Regions from separate parts of the Homo sapiens genome. Here regions 2 and 3 are each linked to region 1. Evidence: promoter capture Hi-C in 16 types of primary human blood cells and fetal thymus (Javierre and others, 2016). All regions are on one chromosome and are shown on one strand. The core of a region is centred on a gene start or on the middle of the fragment in contact, and the rest is flanking DNA. Distances in the headings are between cores, read along the strand shown.

Region 1 (4,081 bases), core at 1,211-3,710:
GAAACTCATCCTTCTGAAATAATCAGGCTCTTGGACAGGCACCAAGCCTATGCACCTTCAAGACCGCAAAGGAAAAGCTGTACACCCAGTGAGATCAGGAAAGAGAAATAGACCTTCTGAGTCAACTTAGGGAAGATGGTACAAAAATGATGGCCTCCTTGAAAAATCTGGGAAGATGGTCACTGAAAGCATTTACGATTGGATTTTTTTTTTTTTGAGACGGAGTCTCGCTCTGTCGCCCAGGCTGGAGTGCAGTGGCGCAATCTCGACTCACTGCAAGCTCCGCCTCCTGGGTTCACATCATTCTCCGGCCTCAGCCTCCGAGTAGTCAGGCGCCCGCCACCGCGCCCGGCTAATTTTTTTTTTATTTTTAGTAGAGACAGGGTTTCACCATGGTCTCGATCTCCTGACCTCGTGATCTGCCTGCCTCGGCCTCCCAAAGTGCTGGGATTACAGGTGTGAGCCACTGCGCCTGGCCTACGATTGGATTTTATTTCCTGTTCTCATCTTTGAGAGTGTGTGTGTGATGGGAGGAGGCGATAGTAAAGGCAGGTGGGCCATGCCCTGGGGCAGAAGAACACTGGCTGGAGATGCTGTGCGCAGGCTGAGGACTGGGCAATCTGCCTGCTGCCCTGACAGCCCGGAGAGGGCAATCCCAACCTATATGGCAAGCTCCAAAAAGAAGGCAATTCTTACAAGGCTCTGAAAACCTAAAATTCTAAAGCTATTTTTAAAAACAAGATACAAAACACTACTAATACGTCATTTACGTTCACAAATGAACAAAAACACATTTTTAGTTTGAAAACAAACAGGCCCTAACTTTCAGCACAGACACAGCACTTAATTGAGTGCCAGGCACTGTTCTACGTCCTTCCCATCTATTAATTCATTTACACTCCATGCTCCAAGGTAGGAGCCATTACGCATGGTTTGCTGTGGGGCGGGAGGCAGAGTTGGAACCCTGGCCCTTCCAGGGTGGTTCCAGAGTTGGGGCTGTTAACTATGATGCTGTTTTACAGGAATCTGGGTGACTTCTGAGGGCCGCTTGGCTCTGGGACGGGTGGAGATGGTGCTGGAATCCAGGCACACAGGTAGGGTGGTAGGCGGCGTGCCTGGAAGGTGACCACCTCCTGCCACTTGGCACAAGAGTGTAGCCCTGTCATCTGGGTGTCCCCATGCCGCCAGATTACTCGGGTTGTCATAACTACCTATCTATAACCCAATAAACCCTCAGGGGCAAAGGGCACCACCAGATGCTAAGGAAATCTTGGTACGATCTAAACTGAGGGTGGGGGCTGGAGGTGTCTTACAAGAACTTGCATCTAATTTTTGCCAGCCAAAAGAATTAAAAACTAGATACTGAGAATGTTTCCTTTGGAAAGGCTGCTCCAGACTGTTAGGAATCTGGGCTTTCTGATTCAGTCTCTTGCCTTTCCAGCACCTAAAATCTTGCTGGAGGGACAGTGAGAGAAGAACCCACTGGTCTCTCAAGGTCTACCCGCTGGTGACATGAGTGACTGGGGGAGCTGACACAGCTGTGTCCCTGGGGAACCTCCCGGGTTGGCAATAAAATGGGGCAGTAATGCTCTGACAATCAGCTTGCAGTGGACTGCCTGCGGAACTGGAGATGAAAGCCTTCGTAAAGCCCCAAGCCCTTTTACTGTGTGTACGCGTACCCCTGGCGTCCTCTGCCCCATTTCCCTAAATACCAACCTCAGGTGCCCTCCGCCCACCTCCCGGAAGCTGCCAGGTCTGGGCAGAAAACCAAAACAACCCTTGGGCCTTTGTCTCCCCCCTAAAGGCCAGCTGGGGCAAGAGGGAGCGAGGGCCCGCCCAGGCACCGGCTGGGGAAAGGCTGTTTGATGTAGGGCCACCTCCCGGGGTGAGGATGCAAGGGGACCTCGGCAGGAACCAAGTGAGGAAACTGAGGCTGGGTGGTCTGGGCAGCGCCCCGCTCGGGCTCGGGTCCCCGCGGGGTCTGTGCTCCAGCCACGGGTCTGGCAGACCCTCACGCAGGAGTCCCAGGGGTCCCAGTGGCCGTCCCTCGGAGCCGGGCACCCGTTGTCCTTCGGATCCTAGGACGTGCCACCCCTCGAACCTCAGGACCCGCCGTCCCTCAGACCCCGGGCACTGACACCCCTCAGACCCCGAGCACCCCCGCCCCTCGGACCCAAGGACGTGCCGTCCCTCAGACCCCGCGCACTGACACCCCTCAGACCTCGGGCACTGCCGCCCCTCAGACCACGGACACAGCTGCCCCTCAGAACCCATGCACCCGGGCCCCTCAGACATAAGGACTCGCTGCCCTTCGAGCCGAGCACCCAGCGCCCAGTCAGGCCCCCAGCCGCCCTCAGCCTGGCCCGGCCGCGCCGCTCACCCTGCTGCCCGGAGGAATCTGCCATGGCTGGGAATCCCGGACCCGCAGCTGCGGCTACAGACACTTCCTAGAATCTGATGCAACCGCCGCCCCGGAAGTCGCGCCCCACGCCGGGCCCGTCTTCCGGGACACGCCCGGTCGCTAGGCAACTACCAGGGGCTCCGGATGTCGCCGGCCCGGAGCATGCTGGGAGCTGTAGTTCAACCCAATGGCGACCCGCGCTCCGGAGCATCGCGCGGCCAAGCGTTCAGTGGCCGTGCTGGGAGTAGTCAGCCCAGCCGCGGGGAGACAAGCACTAAAGACTGAGCGTCCTGTAATAGGTGTTTAAGTCATGATTGCGCTAAGCGCCGTGGGGACCAGGCCCAGCCTGGAGGTCAGAGGCGGCCTCGGGACAGGGTGTGCTGGCGAGACGGGATGGTTCCCAGGAGGCCGACCTGGAGCAGGGCCTGGGGATGGGCGGGAAGAGCGCTCCAGGCCTAGGGACCGCCCTGCCAATGACCCTGCGGAAAGCAAGCCACTATGAAGTGTTGCGTGAACAGGCTTCTCCATCTCCTTCTCAGACCCCATTCTGGAGCCATCCCCAACCCCCTTAGGGCTCCTGCCTTCTGTGTGCATGATGTCACCTCCCAAGGATATCCCACCCAAGGTTCGTGCACCCATCCAAAATGAGAGGAAATGCTATTTAAGAAACAGAATTTTAATATGTCAAGAAAAATTATTAGCCAGGATTAGTGGCTCATGCCTGTAATCCCAGCACCTTGAAAGGACAAGGCAGGAGGATCATTTGAGTCCAGGAGTTTGAAGCTGCAGTGAGCTACGACTGTGCCACTGCATTCCAGCCTAGGCGACAGAGTGAGACCCTTTCTCAAAAAATAAAAAGTAAAAAATCTTCTAGTTACTTTTTGGAACCTCATGTCTAATTTCATAATAAATTCTAAGGCCGGGCACGGTGGCTCACACCTGTAATCCCAGCACTTTGGGAGGCCGAGGTGGGCGGATTATGAGGGCAAGAGATCGAGACCATCCTGGCCAACATGGTGAAACCCTGTCTCTGCTAAAAATGCAAAAATTAGCTGGACATGGTGGCGCTTGCCTGTAGTCCCAGCTACTCAGGAGGCTGAGGCAGGAGAATCGCTTGAACCAGGGAGGTGGAGGTTGCAATGAGCCGAGATTGCGCCATTGCACTCCAGCCTGGCAACAGAGTGAGACTCCGTCTCAAATAAATAAATAAATAAATAAATAAATAAAATAATAAATAAATAAATTCTAAATTCTACTGGTGGCTGGAAAAAAAAAAGAAGAAAGAGTTTGTTTACATTTCTGCAAAGATCCTGTAGCATGTGCTGTAACTTGCCCAGGATGTGGGAGGCTCTGTGAGACCCCAACTAATCCCAAAGGAGGGACCAAGTCCAGGACTTAGGGGACGAAGTTCTGGCCAGGTCCTACCATGACTCTCACAGTGCCTGTTTCTCACTCATCACTCTAGGACCATGAGTCACCCAAGCCCAGCTCGGCCACATGCCTTCCTGGGAGAAGGAACCGGAGGCGCCCAGGAGAGTCAGAAGCCTCTTAGAGATAAACATTCGGCTAAGGCTTGCCCTGCCCTTCCTTTCTTGCACTAAGAAAGCCTCCTGACATCAGGTCAGGCAAGCCAGAGTTTGGCTGTAAGACCTGGGGTGAGTTTAACTTCTCTGAGCTTCC
Region 2 (4,266 bases), core at 236-2,735, 520 kb before region 1:
GCCTGGTGGGATGACTGGGGTACCTGGGGCCAGGGGCGGCCAGCAGCCTCCTCAGTAGCTTGTGGGAGATGCTCTCAACCCCAAGGTCAGCTCCAGCTGGCCTCAGGAGGAGTGGATGTTCCCTTCAGGTGTCTTTAGGACCCTGGCAACTGGGGACAATAGTCTCCTCCCCAAATATGCAGTCTTGACTCCTGGCCACTTGGGAAGGTGCGTTCTGGTCCTCTGGGCCTCACAGCTTTGTGCCCTCTAGGGTGGCAATGGGAGGCAGAGAGCACAGCCTGGGGACTTGCTGTGAGGGGACTGCATTTAGATTTTTAGGTGAAGCCAATCCCTGTTGGGCTGAGAAAAGTCCTGGGCGGCTGTGAGCTGGTGGTGAGTTTTCCAGACTTGGTCATGGTCAAGGTAGTTGAAGTCGGGGGTTGAAAAACACACTCGTGTCCAGCCCAGATGCCTTATGGAGAAGAGGATGCACAGGCACACACGCACAGACATATGTGCACGGATGGGCGTGTGGACGTATGCACACATAGGTACCCATGTGGACACACTCACGTGTGTGTGCACGTTCAGGCTCAGACACGTGCCTGCATGCACACGTGCACACGTGCACACCCAGCCCTGGACCTCAGGCAGGCAGGGAGAGAGACCCCCTTGGGGCCGCGTTCCATTTGCACATTTAATCCAGAAACTGTCAGCATGGGAAGCCTGGATGAGAACAAAATGTCAAGTGTGTGCCGAGAGGCGCAGGCCAGCCCCTTTTCCTGGCGGGGTGATGATCTGGTCAGTTTCCGAGCACCATGTGCTGAGAATGATGCGTGCATTCAGAGCAGCATTTGGTGGGGAACCTGGGGGAAGGGCGGGCGTCTTTATTTCATTTTAGCTTTCTTTAGCGGGGCCTGTGTCTCTTCTCACTGACCGTTTTCTGAAACTGGCTGGGGAGGGTCAGGGATGGCTGCTGTCCTCGGGGGAGGGACTGAGCTGGGCCCTTTTCGTTGGTTAGTTCTCAGTGTGGCCTACCCAGCCAGGTCCCTGGACCTGGCGGTGGCTATGAAAGCCTGGGATTGAGGACAAAGCCATGGGGACGCCGTTTTCGGGATGCTTGTGAGCAGGGCTTTGTCCCCACCGTTAGGATACTCTGAACGTTCCCAGAAAGCCCCCTTCTGCTCAAGTTCTCTTGCTTCATCTCAGGCTCAGGTGTTTTGAGTTTTTTTTTTTTTTTAAATGAGGACATCTGTTAGACCACTTAGGAGTTCTAGAACCTTTGGAAAACCCCCTCTCATCCCGGGAGTTTGTAAGAATTTGTAGTTTCTCCCCAGAGTTCATGGAGCCCCTGTCAGAGGCGCTGAGGCCCAGGTCCTGTGGCTGGTCCTCGCATAGACATCAGCTAAGGGGGTTTGGGGGCCAGTCGGCAGCCTCTGGAGGCCTCTGCACCCCTCCTGTGAAAGGCCGGCGCAGAGCTGCACCGTGGGGTCCCCTGGCTTGGGGTGGGCCTCAGAGGCTGTCGCCGTGCCTGCTGTGGCTCTCCATGGCCCTGGAGCCTGGGATTGCAGAAAGACTCCCAGACCTTGCTGGGGAAACTCCAGGATATGGGGGTATCCAGACTCCTGAGACTTCCCCGTGGGTCCACACACGTCACCAATCCTCTCTGCACCTCAGCTTCCTCATGTGTGAAATTCAGGTCATATCAGGACCTCAGTTCCTGGGGCTGTGCCGAGGGTGTGGGGACATTGGGCATGAAGGTTCTCAGTCCAGAGCCAATGGCCAAGAGGGCAAAAGGGTGTTGGTGGACGATGCCTCCTCCCCTGGCGGGGGCGGGGAAGGAAGTGCTAGGGGAAGCCGGTGTAAGGGGCCCCGTGCCCACCAAAGGCGCGCTAATTGCGAAGGAGGGGCCTCAGCCAGGAACCGCCATAGCCTCAGTTTTATTTATTCTGCTCACTCAAACAAAAAATCAGCTTTGTTGAGGTATAATTGGCATAGAGTGGAAGGCCTTGTTTAAAATGTAGGATTTGACAAATCTGGACATGGGTGTACGCCACAGGACCATCACCACAATTGAGACAGCAGGCACATCCGTCACCCCCAGAAGGCTTCTCGCTCCCGTCGCTGGCCCCTCCTCCGCTGCTCCTGGCTCCGGAGGGGACCCCTGGTCTGTCTTGTCAGTGTAGACGGTTGGCGTTTTCTGGGGCTTGTTGTCAGTGCAATCATACAGTGTGTGGTTTTTATTGTCTGGTTCCATATTTGAGAGTCATCCAGGCTGTGGCATGTAATAATTCATTCCTTTTTCATTGCTGAGCCGTATCCCATTGTACGGACGCATTGCAGTCTGTTTATCCACTTGTGTGCTGGCGGACTCTGTATAAAAGTGTTTGTAGGGACTTATATTTCCTTTCTGCATGGGTAAATACCTAGGTATAGAATGGCTGGATAATGTGGTGAGTGTATATTTTTAACTATTTAAGAAACTGGCTAACTCATCAACCCTTGACGTGGTCCGTCATTTTCATGTTAGCCAGTCTAAGAGGTGTGCGTGGCATCCTGCTGTGGTTTTAACTTTCATTTCCTAAGGACCAGTGATGTTGAATATCTTTTCACGTGTTTCATTGGCATCCAGGAAACATCTTTGGTGACATATCTTTTTAAATGTTTCACCCATTGTAAAATTGGGCTGTTTGTCATCTGAGTTGTAAAAGTTCTTTGTATATTCTGGTTACATAGATATTTGTTTTACACATGTATTCTCTAGTCGGTGGCTTTCCTTTTCATTTATTTAGTAGTATCTTTTTTTTTTGTTTGAGACTGGGTCATGCACTGTGCTCAGGCTGGAGTGCAGTGGCGTAAACGTAGCTCACTGCAACCTCGAATTCCTGGGCTCCGAGGATCCTCCCACCTCAGCCTCCCAAGTAGCTGGGACTATAGGCATGTGCCACCACAGGTGCTAACTTTTTAAAGTTCTTGTACAGACAGGGTCTCACTTTGTTGCCCAGGCTGGTGTCAAACTCCTGGCCTCAAGCGATCCCCTTGCCTCGGCCTCCCAAAGCGCTGGAATTACAGGTGTGAGCCACTGCTCCAGGCCCAATAGTATCTTTTAAAGACCAAACATTTTCAATTTTATGAAGTCAAATATAGCTTTTTCCTTTTAAATATGTTTCATGCTTTTCACATTCTATTTAGGAAATGCTTACCAAACACACTCTTACTAAGATTTTCTGCTAGTAGTTTTATAATTTTTGTGCTTACCTTTAGGCCTAGGATGCATTTTGAGTTAATTTTTCTCTATCATGTAAGACATAGGCGGAGATTCATGTGTTTTTTCTTATGGATGACTGACTGGTCCAGTGTCATTTGTTGAAAAGAGTATCCTTTACCCAGTGAATCATCTTGACTCCTTTTAAGAGGTTCAGTTTATCATAAAATTGTCTCTTTCTGGACACTCTACTGTGATCCGTTGATCTGTCCTTTTGCCAGTCACACACTGGGATTGTTACAGCCCTATAATACGGTTAAAATAAGTTAGGGTAATTTAGCCAACTTTGTTTTGCTATTTCAAGTTGTGTTGGTTGTTCGGGGTCCTTTGCATTTACATATAAATTTTGGAAGCTGCTTACCAATTTTTGCAAAGCCTGGTAGAATTTTGTTTGGGATTGCATTCAACCTAAAGATCAACATGGGGAGAATTGATGTCTTAACCAATATTGAATCCTCTGATCAATGAGATTATCTATCTCATATATATATATGTGTGTGTGTGTATATATATATGTGTGTGTGTGTATATATATGTGTATATATATATGTATATATGTGTATATATGTATATATCTATGTATATATATGTGTATGTATATGTATATATATGTGTATATATATGTGTATATATATGTGTGCATATATGTGTATATATGTGTGTGTATATATATATATGGTTACATACCTAATATGTATATGGTTATATATCTCTTATAAGGGTTATATATCTCATATACATATGAGGTTATATACCACTTATTTAGATTTTTAACTTCTGTCAGAGATGTTTCATAGTTTTTAGTGTATAGGTCTTGTACATCTTTTGAGGTACCTAAGTGTTTCATATTTTTTATGCTATGGTCAATGGTATTTCTTCTAATCTAGAACTGAAATTCATTTTGACAAATTTATCTTGAATCTTGCAACCTTTCTAAACTCATTTGTTCCAGTGGCTTTTGAAAAAATGAATTCCATTGATTTCCTTATATGAATGATGTTTTCTGAACATAGAGACAGTTT
Region 3 (3,987 bases), core at 572-3,071, 540 kb before region 1:
CTTTTCCCCATTGGTGGTGGTTTTATGTGTTCATTTACGGTTTATTTTCTCTCTCCCTGTGTCTGTTATCTGTCTCTGCACCCCTGGAGCCCAGCGTGGTGCCAGGCACACACTACGTGCCTCCTGGGTTGGGGGCAGCAGGGACAAAAGCCAGGCATGGGATGTGGCTCTTGTGGGATGCACCTTGGGTGTGACTGTCACGGAAAAGGAGGAGACGTGGGGTGGGGAAGGGGGCAGCCCCTACTGTTCCTGGCAGCAGGGCCAGAATTGAGAGCCAGAGGTTGCCACTGGAGGGCTTCCTGGGGAGGCAGCTGGCACCGCCTGATTCCTGTTTCTGAATGCCCTCTCACTCTCCCCCACCCCCATGGAACCAGAACCACCTCGTCAGGCCCAGCAGCCCTTCAGGGTCAGTCTCTGCATGGGTGGTAATATGGCTTACCTGAGTCCTGGTCAGTCTGTGGCCTGGGAGTCCACCCTCCATGACTAGTGGTTTGTGGCAGGTGACGGGTGAGTGGTCTCCATGCTCCCAGCCGCTGTGTAGAGGTGCCAACCTGCCCCTCCTGCCAGAGCTGGGCTCCTGTTGGGCGGGACTGAGGATACCGAGACAGAAATAAAACTGCTAAATGCATCTGTTGTTGAATAATTCAATGCCCCATGCCAGGCCTGTTGCAAAATTAGCCACTTCCTCCCTCCAGGCCCATGAGTGACTCCTGGATTTGGTGAAAGCCAGGCCTAGTGGAATTGTGGCCCGGAAGGTTCTCTGGGAGCTGGGAACCTCCATGCAGGAGCCCAGGGGAGGGGGTGCTTGGCCACATGCGGGCCCCTCAATCTGCCCTGTGGAGCCCGGCCTGGCCTGCAGCCCCCTGTGCAGGGAAAAACCCGCGGTTTTCCCTGGTGGAGGGCACAGGTCAGAGCGGGCATGGACAGGGCATGAGGAAGCAGTGCAGAGGAAGCGTGAGCATTTGTCTCGGGCCAGCTGGAGAAAGGAAATGGGGCTGCTTCCTGGAGGGCAGAGACATCAGGGGCTGCGCTGTCGGGCTCGGCGTGCAAGATTTGTGTCTCATCCCAGGGTTAGGTGCCTCCCAAATGCCAGGGCTTCCCATGGGCCATACACACTCAGTCGAACAAGATTTGCACAAAACCTGGGCCATAAGCTCGCTGAGCACTTGGCCTGCCCAGCCGGTGACAATGAGAACCGCACATGCTCAGCCTTCCCTGGACTCAGGGCCCTACGGGTGCTGGAGCCGGGGCGGGAGAGGGCCGCAGGCTGCCCCTGCCTCTGCATCCTCCCCGTCGATGCCTGGGGCCACTGGGATTGGCAGAAAAGGGATGCCCCCGAGATGGGCAGCCAGGAGAACTGTCTGTCTCCTATCCCAATATGCCTACCTCCCTCTCTGAATCCCCATTTCCCCCTCATCCTTGCCCCCACACACCCAGATTTGCAATGGGACACACGGCCACCTGGGATGACAACCCCTCCCAGTCTTCCCTCAAGACAAGTGTGGCCATGACCGCATGGGGCCAGCAGGGTGTGAGTTGAAGTGTCCCGCAGTGGCTTCCGGGGATGTGCAGCCCTGCCCTGAGGCCCTCTGGCCGCCTCTTGCTCTCTGAGCAGGGATGTCCGTGCCTTGGGCCTGAGGCTGAGCTGGGCTAGGTCCCTGGGTGTCTGGGGCCACACTCTCTGGTCCAGCCTGCTGTTACAGGGGATGCCTCAGGGCCACCACTGGTCATGGAGGCTGGGGGCGCCTGCCTGTCTGCCCGCCTGGAGTTCAGGTAAACAACCCCACTGAGGAGGCACCCCTAGCCGTGGGAGTTGGCGTGTCCTGCTCCCCAGGGCGGTCTGTCCCCTTGGCGAGATCCTTGCTGTGTCAGCAGAGGGTTTTCCTGGCCCAGGGTCTTGGGGAGCAGATGATGGGGCTTTAGGAGCTCTGGCTCTGGGAAGGCAGTGGACCCTGGAGCAGGGATCTTGGGAGGATGGAGAGTTGGCGGCTCAGGAAGGAGGCTGCTCAAGCCCCGGCCTGCTCACTGGGAAGAGCGGTCCTTGGAGGAGAGAGCTCCCGAGGAGAAAGCCATGATGCTGTGCTGCGCTCTGGGCCACCAGGTCTTGTCTGGGGGGAATCCTGACCCTGTGTGATGTGAGTGCAGGGACTCCCCCACCCTCCGACCAGGACCTTTGTACTCTCCTGGCCGTGTCATTGCACAACTCCAGGGGCCGTCACTCACCTGAGCCCTCTTTGCTCTTCTTGGCTGTTCCCTGATATGGCCACGCAGAGACTATCTCTAAGTGTCAGTTCTGGACTCAGCTGGAAAGGTTTCATGACCTCAAGGGACCCATGGGACTTGAGGGTGGGGCAGCTGTTTGCCCTGTGGATCAAAGGGGAGTGTCTGGGATGGGATCCACCTGCCCTGCCCTCAAAGTGCTGGGCAGTCCCTCAGAGCCATAGAGCCTAGGGGGTCTTGGGCCCTCTTCCCCAGGGCATGGCCCAGGCACCTGCTGGCCTGAGGTCCCTGCTGGGCCCAAGGCATCCCTGCCGTGTTCAGAGTTCCACAGGCACCAGTCCACCATGCTGGGGCCTACTGGGAGAGACAGCCACCCGCCTGCTGTCGGGAGCCTCCATCACCAGAGCCTGGGGGTGTCCCAGCCACCCTGGCCGCTGTTTCTCTGCCTCCGCACCGGCCTCTCTCCTGAGTTCCATCCATCCCTGCAGGTTGGGTTCTCCTCTCTCCTCTGGGATCTGCACAGGTTGCCATTCTCTCTGCCTAGACTGGGCCTCCACCTCTGAGAAGCCCTCCCTTATTGCCCCTTCCAGTGGGCTGGGAGAGGGAGGAAGGCCAGGTGCAGAAAGAGAATTCACCTGCCCGGCTAAAGCCCCACCTGCCTATTTCAAGGCCTCTGATGCCCCCCGGCCTGCAAGGTGTGTGCATGGGGCCTGTCCCATGCTGGCTCACCCAGCTGCTCAGAGAGGCAAGTGGCTCCCGGGCCCCACAGTGACACTGGGGGACTCTTTGTCTCCATTTGGGGGGTGTGCAGGTCACTCCTGGTGCCCTGGTCAGCTTCCCCAACCTGAGCTGCCCTCAGCTCCTGGCTTGGCCCTCCACGGAGTGGGAGATGCCCCCCTCCCCTGCCATTATCGTACCTTACCTCGCTGGCGGCCATGGAGGCAGTGAGAAGAGCCGAGGGAGCTGGCCGGGGCGCATTTCCGTGCAGGACACTGGCTGCCTCCCAGCTCACTCTTAGCCTGGTCATAGAGCCCGGCAGCATCTTGCCAGGTGCCTGTGGTCCCAGATCCTGGGGCTGCCCCATCTCTGGAATATTGAGGTGTGGCTGGGGCTGATCTGAGGATGAATGTGGCTCAGGTTGCCGGGTGCCCTTGACGCATTCCCATGTCCCAGTGGGGAAACCAAGGCTCAAGGAGGCCACACAGCAGCTCCATTTCCAGGGACACCCAGTGTTCTCTGTAGTGGGTAGGAGGTTTCCCTATACAGGAGACCAAGCTACAGCAAGAAAGACTTGGCCGGGCGAGGTGGCTCATGGGCGCGGTGGCTCACGCCTGTAATCCCAGCACTTTGGGAGGCCAAGGGGATCACGAGGTCAGGAGATCAAGGCCATCCTGGCTAACACTGTGAAACCCCATCTCTACTAAAAATACAAAAAATTAGCCCGGCGTGGTGGCGGGCGCCTGTAGTCCCAGCTACTCGGGAGGCTGAGGCAGGAGAATGGCATGAACCCGGGAGGCAGAGCTTGCAGTGAGCCGAGATTGCGCCACTGCACTCCAGCCTGGGCGACAGAGCCAGACTCCGTCTCGAAAAGAGACTTGGGCTAGATGTGAGGAGGGACTTTCCCAAGTAGGGATGAACCCTGAGGACCCACACCCTGAGCCGCCAGTGGGTCGTGTTGACCTGGCAGCTCCAGGGCACCTGAGGCCTTCGCTGTCCTTCCGCACCTCGCCCCCTTCCCGAGTGGAGGTGCTCTGGGAGCTCTGCCTG

What was found. Contacts are between HindIII fragments. The CHiCAGO score rates a contact against its expected background, and 5 or more counts as called.
Region 2: a fragment that was not itself captured here is called in contact with the fragment with the promoter of CARS1 in region 1 in 6 of 17 cell types (naive CD8 T cells, non-activated CD4 T cells, total CD4 T cells and 3 more); the score reaches 7.4 in naive CD8 T cells.
Region 3: a fragment that was not itself captured here is called in contact with the fragment with the promoter of CARS1 in region 1 in 1 of 17 cell types (naive CD8 T cells); the score reaches 5.5 in naive CD8 T cells.

What each region holds. Positions count from the first base shown.
Region 1 is chr11:3,054,963-3,059,043 of GRCh38, forward strand. CARS1 (cysteinyl-tRNA synthetase 1) reads right to left here and starts at 2,461. Exons shown (of 23, transcript NM_001014437.3): 1 at 2,381-2,461. The coding sequence starts at 2,405. It overlaps LOC124902615 (a long non-coding RNA gene), which reads left to right and starts at 3,662. Exons shown (of 2, transcript XR_007062555.1): 1 at 3,662-4,056. RefSeq lists an enhancer at 2,115-2,647. The HindIII fragment of the contact is 6,695 bases long and covers 1-4,081 here.
Region 2 is chr11:2,540,501-2,544,766 of GRCh38, forward strand. All of the region lies in intron 2 of KCNQ1 (potassium voltage-gated channel subfamily Q member 1), which reads left to right. Among named protein-coding and RNA genes, the nearest start is that of KCNQ1, 98 kb to the left of the region's middle. The HindIII fragment of the contact is 9,571 bases long and covers 1-4,266 here.
Region 3 is chr11:2,511,021-2,515,007 of GRCh38, forward strand. The region is part of intron 1 of KCNQ1 (potassium voltage-gated channel subfamily Q member 1); the gene reads left to right. LOC124902613 (a long non-coding RNA gene) reads right to left here and starts at 571. Exons shown (of 3, transcript XR_007062553.1): 1 at 440-571. The HindIII fragment of the contact is 8,148 bases long and covers 1-3,987 here.